2 separate regions of the Homo sapiens genome follow, and region 1 is linked to region 2. The links are contacts of gene promoters, found by promoter capture Hi-C in human tissues and cell types (Jung and others, 2019). All regions are on one chromosome and are shown on one strand. Each heading gives the region's core, a stretch centred on a gene start or on the middle of the fragment in contact. The rest is flanking DNA. Distances are from core to core; before and after follow the strand shown. Region 1 overlaps CLIP1 (CAP-Gly domain containing linker protein 1). Region 2 holds the start of B3GNT4 (UDP-GlcNAc:betaGal beta-1,3-N-acetylglucosaminyltransferase 4).

The links. Contacts are between HindIII fragments. The study calls those that stand out against the background at their distance.
Region 1: a contact is called between a fragment that was not itself captured here and the fragment with the promoter of B3GNT4 in region 2, in 5 of the 25 tissues and cell types used here (lymphoblastoid cells, mesenchymal stem cells, small bowel and 2 more).

Annotation. Positions count from the first base shown.
Region 1 is chr12:122,342,198-122,346,533 of GRCh38, forward strand. The region is part of intron 10 of CLIP1 (CAP-Gly domain containing linker protein 1); the gene reads right to left. Among named protein-coding and RNA genes, the nearest start is that of CLIP1-AS1, 51 kb to the right of the region's middle. The HindIII fragment of the contact is 6,248 bases long and covers 1-4,336 here.
Region 2 is chr12:122,200,679-122,205,199 of GRCh38, forward strand. It overlaps B3GNT4 (UDP-GlcNAc:betaGal beta-1,3-N-acetylglucosaminyltransferase 4), which reads left to right and starts at 3,031. Exons shown (of 3, transcript NM_030765.4): 1 at 3,031-3,123; 2 at 3,844-4,006. The coding sequence starts at 3,941. It overlaps LRRC43 (leucine rich repeat containing 43), which reads left to right. Exons shown (of 12, transcript NM_001098519.2): 10 at 68-256; 11 at 618-651; 12 at 2,637-2,793. The coding sequence ends at 2,764. RefSeq lists a silencer at 2,716-3,345. The HindIII fragment of the contact is 16,495 bases long and covers 1-4,521 here.

The DNA of each region.
Region 1 (4,336 bases), core at 1,497-3,996, 140 kb after region 2:
CAACTTTAGTATCTCCAATTCTAAAGAAGCTTAAATCAGATAAATATCCATTAACTGATAAGTTAACAGAAACAGTAACTTTCAAAGTTCACAGATATAACTGCCTCCTGAAAGAAAACATTTCCTTATTTTGCCAGTTTGTCCTACCCCACTTCATCCAGGTTGCATAAATGCTTATCCATTTCATGGAGGTGATCTTATAGAACTGTGCCATCCGGAACAGTAGCTGTTGGCCACACGTGGCTATTGAGCACTTGAGATGTGGCTCATCTGAAGTGAGGTGTGGTATAAGTGCAAAATACACATCAGATTTTGAAGACTTAGAAGAAAAGGATCACAAAATGTCTTGTGGGCCAAGTGCAGTGGCTCACGCCTGTAATCCCACCACTTTGGGAGGCCGAGGCAGAAGGATCACTTGAGGCCAGGAGTTCAAGATCAGTCTCGGCAACACAGCAAGACCCCGTCTTTGCAAAAAATAAAAAATTAGCCAGGCATGGTGGTGTCGCCTGTGGTAACAGGTACTTGGGAGGCTAAGACGGGAGGATTGCTTGAGTCTAGGAGGTTGAGGCTATAGTGAGTAATTGTGCCATTGTACTCCAGCCTGGGAGACAGAGCACGACTCTGTCTCTAAAAAAAAAAAAAAACAAACTGAAATTATATTTTAAAATGTTTAAAATATCTTAATAATTTTATTTTGATTAATATTTTGAATATATCAGTTACATAAAATATATTATTAAAACTAATTTAACTTGTGACTTACAAAAAAGTAATGTGGGTACCAGAAAATTATAAATTGTACATGTGTGGCTTACATTATACTTCTATTGGACAGCACTTGCATAAAAGGTCTAAAATTACCTATCAAATGTTTCAATGAATAACACATCACCTGTAGAATGAAAGCCTCAATTGAAGAATGAAGAATTAATTTACTAAACTTTTTTTTTTTTTTTTTTTGAGATGGAGTTTTGCTTTCGTTGCCCAGTGCAATGGCGCGATCCCAGCTCACTGCAACCTCCACCTCCCAGGTTCAAGCGATTCTCCTGCCTCAGCCTTCCAAGTAGCTGGGATTACAGGCATGTGCCACCAGACCTGGCTAATTTTGCATTTTTAGTAGAGACGGGGTTTCACTATGTTGGTCAGGCTGGTCTCGAACTCCTGACCTCCAGTGATCCACCCACCTTGGCCTCCCAAAGTGCTGGGATTACAGGCGTGAGCCACCACGCCTGGCCTACTGATCATTTTATTAAAACACAAAGTAAGAATGATTACTTACCTGCAATAATACACAAGAATCTTACACAAAATCCCCTTTTTAGATATGATAATTCTATCAGCATTTTGATGTAAACATCTTCTTCCCCTAACCCCCTAACCCAGTGGTTCTCAGACATTAGTACGCACATGAATCACCTGGAATGTACATCTAACCTGCAAGTTTCTACCTATTCCCATGTACTTCGATTCTATTTGAGCTCCGGGATAGTACCCAAGAATCTTCTTCCTTTAAATAAATACCCCAGGGCTAGAAAAACACTTTCTTAACCTGTGCCCTTTCATTGCTAGAAAATTACTTCCCTCTGCTACCTGCTATGCAGTCCATTTAGTACATAGGATGTGTGGAAAATAGCTTCCATCACAAAAATTCTTGGACTAATCTGGGAAATGAAAGGGAACAAAATAATTTTAAAACAGCAGTGAGTCCCATATTTCAAGGATCAAAACTCCTGTGATTGGCTGGGTGAGGTGGTACATGCCTATATACCTAGCACTTTGGGAGGCCAAGGCAAGAGGATCACTTGTGGCCAGGAGTTCAAGATCAGCCTGGGCAACACAGCGAGAACTCCATCTCTACAAAAAAATGTTAAATATTCTTCTGAATTTAAGACTCCTCTCCCACACTGCCTTTCTTTGAGACAGAAAATAACAGATATGTTTTCTTTCATTTCCTCTGTCCACCCTACAGGCTGTGACACCAATAAAGATTAAAATGCCCATAAGAGAAGAGGAAAAGAAAGCACTGAGTCTCCAAAACTGCATAATCAAAGTAAATAAAATTAAATATTTCAGAGCTGACTATAATTGCTGTGCTTCGTGGTTATAGACTCATCAGGTTAAAGATGTTAATTCATTTACACATGATTTTCTGGGGAAGGAAGAGTCCAAGAGTTTGTTACGTCAAAATAACATACAAAACATTAATAAACCCATCAGGATCTGGCAGAATTTGCTAAATAAAAGAAAAAAAAACACAAAACACTAATAAACCCCATTGCTGCAAGGTCTGTAGCATAAATACATTAAACCCAATAGGGCAATGGTTCTTAGTTACAACAAAACAGTCAAGTAGAGAAAAATGCCAAGTAAAAAATAAGTAAAAATAATAAATACCAATGTGATTTTACTTTCCGTGGCATTTCCCTATAAAGTACAGCAATTTATTTTTCATTTCCCAAAATCTGCCCTAATTCAAAACTATGTGGTATGTCTGCTTCTCCCACTAGTTTGAGACCATGAATTAAGTCAGAAATTATTTCTTATTCTTCCTAACATCTCTACAGCACCAAGCACACTGTTTGGAAACTGGATTTATTGGCTAGAAAGTATTCTAAAGCACTTCCTAAAAAGTAACATAGGTGATATGAAACTTACATGGGTAGCTGGTTATCTTAACACTTGGGAACCCAAGAGTGAGGATCAACAGAAGACATACTTCGTTATGGAAAGATATAAGCTTTACACTGAAATACTTGGATAAACCATGGTGTAACTGAATGCCTTATCTAGAGCAGGAAAAAAAACATCAAAATTGTTTGCTGACAAAACTAAGATACGGGAGAGGAGTTTACATGTTTTAAAAAAATATATTACTTCAAAAGCCATCACACTAAAGGAACTCAATCTCATTAGTCCATTGTATTTCCCGGATCAATTATTTGGCTCTCAGTTAATGAGGAAACAGCACCAAATTGCCACTTTTTTTTTTTTTTTTGAAACAGGGTCTTGCTCTATTGCCCAGGCTGGAGTGCAGAGACATGAACATGGCTCACTGCAAGCCTCGACCTCCTGGGCTCAAGAGATCCTTCCACCTCAGCCTGCCATGTAGCCACCACACCCAGCTAATTTTTTTTTTTATTTTTTGTAGAAGCAGGGTATCACCACCTTGCCCAGGCTGGTCTTGAATTCTTGGACTCAGGTGATCCTCCTGCCTTGGCCTCCCAAAGTGCTGGGATTACAGGCATGAAACACCATGCCTGGCCCACTCTTTTTTTGTTTTCTTACCAAATACACAGGAGAAATCTTTAGTTCAGAGGCCGATAGTTCCTTCTTCTTAAAAAATAAAAACACATGATTTAGAAAAGAAAAATTGTCTAGATTTTTAGATCAGTCAATTAATTCTCAACAAGAGAAATTTCTACAAACACTAGAAATTTTTTTAAAAATCAGGATAGCAAATTTGATTAGAGACAGAGTAATTTTTGGAATTCTAAAGTTAAGAATCTGGGCAATTTAGTCACTGACAGACAAATTCATGATTTAAAAGGGTATGTGACTACATATCTTACATGTAAGTGACTATTTCTTTTTCTTTTTTTTTTTTTGAGACAGAGTTTCGCTCTTGTTGCCCAGGCTGGAGTGCAATGGCGTGATCTCGGCTCACCGCAACCTCTGCCTCCCAGGTTCAAGTGATTCTCCTGCCTCAGCCTCCCTAGTAGCTGGGATTACAGGCATGTGTCACCACGCCCGGATAATTTTAGTATTTTTAGTAGAGATGGGGTTTCTCCATGTTGGCCAGGCTGGTCTCAAACTCCCAACCTCAGGTGATCCACCCACCTCAGCCTCCCAAAGTGCTGGGATTACAGGCATGAGCCACCGCGCCTGGCCATTTCTTAATCTTTACGCACAAAACAACTTCCATAATAGACGGACTCCATCCTGTGGTGCTTAAGAGCACAGACTCTGGGGCCAAATGTCCTAGATGCAAATCCTGCCTCCATTATTACTATTTGCTGTTTTATCTTAGGCAAGTTATTTAACTTCTCTGCGCCTCAGTGTTCTTGTCTGTAAAATGGGGACACTAATATTCCCTACCTCCTAGGGTTGTGTTGAGACTGAATACCTGCAAAGCACTTAGAATAGTGTCTGGCATGAAGTATGCACTATATAGGTGCTTTAATATATAAATAAACTAAAACCTGAGTAATGTCCTGGCTCCAAGGGCTAAGCACAATGAGCTCAGGGCAGGAAGAAGCCATTCTGTTCCCAACATGCATTTCCCTCCTCACCACTGAGGGTTTTTTTGTTTTGTTTTGTTTTTTCCAGACAGAGTCTC
Region 2 (4,521 bases), core at 1,781-4,280:
GGGGAGGGCAGCCTGGCCACACCCTTGCTTCAACTTGTCCCACCCTCCTGTCCTCCCGTCGTCGCAGGAGTGGAAGGTGCTGAAGAAGAAGAAAGAGCCGCCCAAGGAGCTCCGGCAGGACCCCCCCATCCTCCAGGTGCTGGGCCGGGGCCTGGTGATCCTGGAGCCCCTGCTCGCCGGGGAGCCCCTGGTGTCCACCGTGTGCAACTTCGGCGTGGTCCGCACATTGACATCTGACAGGCTGACGTTGGCCAGGGTACAGCCGGGCCCTAGCCACATCCTCCACCTCTGCCTTCGCCCTCCCCATGGGAACCCCGCGGGCAAGCAAGGGCTGTGGGCCCAGGTCACGGGATGGGGAGGAGGTGGTGGGGAGGGCCTTTCCCTGGGGCATGCAGCTGGGCTGCTGGTGCTGCCGCCTGCACAGAGGGCGCCTCCGTGGACTTTGGCCCAGTCAGCAGCCTTCCCTTTGGGGATGGGCTGGGGCAGCCACCCTCACCAGGAGACCCCCGCCTTCCTGGACCTGTCAGAGCCTTGGAGGAGGTGGGGCCCCAGAGACACCCCTTCTCTAGTACCTCCCCTCTCCAGTAAGCATCTCGTTTTGTGGTTCTTTCTCTCAGGATTCAAAGAAGATTAAGAAAGTTGCCAAAAAAGGTGAGTGCCGATGGTGGTGACCAAAGGCAGGGATTGTCAGGAGGACCTGCTGAGGGCCAGCCCTGGGGGAGGCCAAAGGAACCAAAGGGTGGGGAATGGTAGCTTCTGGCCTGGGGAGAGGCCACATCCCCCCTTAGATCCAGTGTTATTATTTCTTCTCTGCAGCCCTCAGACCACAGGGCCTGTGTGGGTGGTGACCAGGGTGGGGAAGGCACCTGTGGTAGAGCCATAGCGGGGCAAGAGCTTGGAGCTGGGGCTGCCTGGGGCTCATCTGGTTCCGAGGTGTCTGCCTCCAGCTTCAGGCCATCGGCCCTTATTTGCTGTAAGAGGGGCCTGGGCTTGTCCTGTGGGGAGCTGGAGAAGCATCTGAAATGGGTGCGTCTCAGGTTTGAGGTTCAGAAAGAACAACCAACTGGGAGGGAGAGAAAGGAGACAGGGAGTGCCGTGGGAGGTGGCTGCAAAAAGCATGAGGCCCGATCATAGCAGAGCAACCCATCATACTGAAGCCGAAAAGTGGAAACAGGCCCAACATGGTGGCTCACGCCTGTAATCCCAGCACTTTGGCGTGCGGATCACCTGAGGTGAGGAGTTCGAGACCAGCCTAGCCAACATGGTGAAACCCCGTCTCTACTGAAAACACAAAAATTAGCCAGGTGCGGTGGTGGGTGCCTGTAATCCCAGCTACTCAGGAGACTGAGGCAGGAGAGTCGCTTGAACCTGGAAGGCAGAGGTGGCAGTGAGCTGAGATCGCGCCATTTCACGCCAGCCTGAAGAAGTAAACGTTGGAGGGCATATGCTGCTGGACTTCAAAACCCATGCCTATATGAACATGTGATTTGTGATACTTATCTGTGGGTTAAGATGGCCTTAAAAAGGTTTTTTTTTTTTTAATCTCTTTAATGTTTGGCTTAATTGAAGACAGCTGGATTCTTACAGCTACTTCTGCAGTCAACTGCTTGCAATATGTTGCTGTAATTGACGTGCACAAAGAAAATCCAACCTCAGGCCCATAATTGGAAAAGAGGGAGTATTTTAATAGACCTTAAAATAATATAATTTCTTTAATATTACACCAAATTTGACAAGTGGTAATTTCTTAAAGGTTGTTACAATGTGAAAACAATCTATATTGAATTTTTCATAATCAGATTAAAATTCATTAATCTAGTTTGCATTTTGAACGGATATTTTACCATGCAGTTTGTAACATGCATGAGTTACTTGTAAACTACAGGTTAACAGACTTATGCAGATATTCCAACAGTTGACACCTGTCACTATACATTTTCCAAAGATCACGTTCTTTACTATCACCACCCACATCATTAGAAAGGTCTTTGCGTATTGGAAAATTGGTAAATTCATGGTGGCAGATACAATGTTGTCTCATTTTTAGGGCAAATGTTATACATTTATTGAAATGCTTTCAGTTGTTTCCCCTGAAGTGCTATAATTACTTCATTTTTAAGAAAATATCTGCAGCTGGGCTCGGTAGTGTACGCCTGTGATCCTAGCACGTTGGGAGGCCTAGGCAGGCGGATCACTTGAGGTCAGGAGTTCGAGACCAGGCTGGCCAACATGGTGAAACCCCGTCTCTACTAAAACTACAAAAAATAGCCGGTCGTGGTGACAGGCGCCTGTAATCCCAGCTACTTGGAGGCTGACGCAGGAGAATCGCTTGAACCTGGGAGGCGGAGGTTGCAGTGAGCCGGGATCATGCCACCGCACTCCAGCCTGGGCGACGGAGCACGACACTGTCTCAAAGCAAAAAGCAGCCAGTCTTGCAACTCAAACAGCTGCGATTTATTAAATGATCTAATTAAATACAATTTAATTTTATTTCTTATTACTGTTAACACCCGAGGACCAAAACTGTGCTCCCGCTGGGACAGGGTCCAGGGCTTGCATATGGGATGGGTCAGGGCGGCCGAGAACGCCAGCCCATCCGTCTCCCGGGGCTCATGCTCGCACTTAAATTTTCTCAGAAAAGCCGAAAGCCGTGATTCCGATCTACGAAGGCGATTACCACCCTGAGCCCCTGACCGTAGAGGTGCAGATCCAGCTGAACCAGTGCCGCTCGGCGGAGGAGGCTCTGCGCATGTTCGCCGTGTAGGGCGTGGGCAGTAAAGGCTGTTCCCAGCACTCCCGCCTCCGCTTCTGTCCCGCCGCACGCGTCGGGGGGCGGGTGTGGCGCCGGCGTCCTGGGGAGGAGGAGCAGCCTCTGCCCGACCCGGCTCGTGCGGACCCCAGGACCGGGCGCGGGACGCGTGCGTCCAGCCTCCGGCGCTGCGGAGACCCGCGGCTGGGTCCGGGGAGGCCCCAAACCCGCCCCCGCCAGAACCCCGCCCCAAATTCCCACCTCCTCCAGAAGCCCCGCCCACTCCCGAGCCCCGAGAGCTCCGCGCACCTGGGCGCCATCCGCCCTGGCTCCGCTGCACGAGCTCCACGCCCGTACCCCGGCGTCACGCTCAGGTAGGTTGGGGGCCGGGACGCCGCTGCTGTGAGGGAGGCTGGGTCACCGTGCAGGGAGGGGCGTCGCCAGGGCGGCCGTGCCTTTGCACCCCGCGGCCCGCTCCCCGGTCCCCCAGGGTCCCCGCGAGGACGCCGGCCCCGCCCGGGTGCGGCGCGAGTCTGGCCTCGGCGGGCACGGCTCGGGGCCCACGGGCCGCTCGGCTTCGGTTCTCCAGGCTGGGGACAGAGGCTGGAGCCGGGCGCGGTAGACCCCGCCAGCCTGGGCCGCCCGCGCCCGACGCGCAGCGCTGCTGCCAACCCCGGCCCGGGGGTCCCCGCAGAGTGGGTCTCTGCTGCCGTCAGCCCTTCGGAGACTGTCGCGTTGAAAGAATGAACCAGAGTTCGCCCCCTGCCCGCGCCAGGGCGTTTTGGGTCACCGAGTCCTGTGGGGATCCGAGGCGGCTGCCGCCCAAGGCCGAGCGCAGCCTCAGGACCCGCGCCCCACCAGACGGGGTCGTGCGCTCCGCGGCGGGTGGAGAGCCGGGCTCTGGGGTCTCCGCGGCTCGGAGGGCGGCGGGGCGAGGCCGTGCGGCCAGCGCCTGGGGACGCCCGCGGCGGGACAGGGGCCACCCGGGCCGCGGCGCAGCCTGGGCTGAAACCTCCTGGGACGGAACCAAGCCACCTGCTGTGCGCCCTTCTCGGTGAATGGCACCGCCGCCCGCCCGGGCCTCTCGTCCACAGCCCGCGGTGCTCGCACACCTGAGACTCATCTCGCTTCGACCCCGCCGCCGCCGCCGCCCGGCATCCTGAGCACGGAGACAGTCTCCAGCTGCCGTTCATGCTTCCTCCCCAGCCTTCCGCAGCCCACCAGGGAAGGGGCGGTAGGAGTGGCCTTTTACCAAAGGTCAGATTCTTTCACCGCCTCTGCCAGACCCCCTTGTCCCCCACCCCCGCATAGATCTCCAGGGGGCTCAGAAAACTCTGGCCGGTGGCTCACGCCTGTAGTCCCAACGCTTTGGGAGGCCAAGGCGGGAGGATCGCTTGAGGCCAGGAGTTCCAGACCAGCCCAGGCAACAAAAGATACCACATCTCTACAAAAAATAAATTAGCCGGGCCCTGCACGCCTGTAGTCCCAGCTACTGGGGAGGCCGAGGCCGGAGGATCGCTTGAACCCAGGAGTTCCAGGCTGCAGTGAGCTATAATTGTGCCACTGCACTAGAGTCTGGGTGACAGAGACACTGTCTCAAAAAAAACCAACAAAACCCTTAGCTCTTTCACTAGCCGGGCTGGCCTCTTCCTACTGTAAACCTGCTGGGCCCCCGTCTCCCTTCTTTCTCCCCTCTCTCCTGCCCTGGAGCTGCCTGACTCTGCCCACGGCCTGCAGAGACCCCAGGTCTTCACGCAAGGTGCCATTCCTCA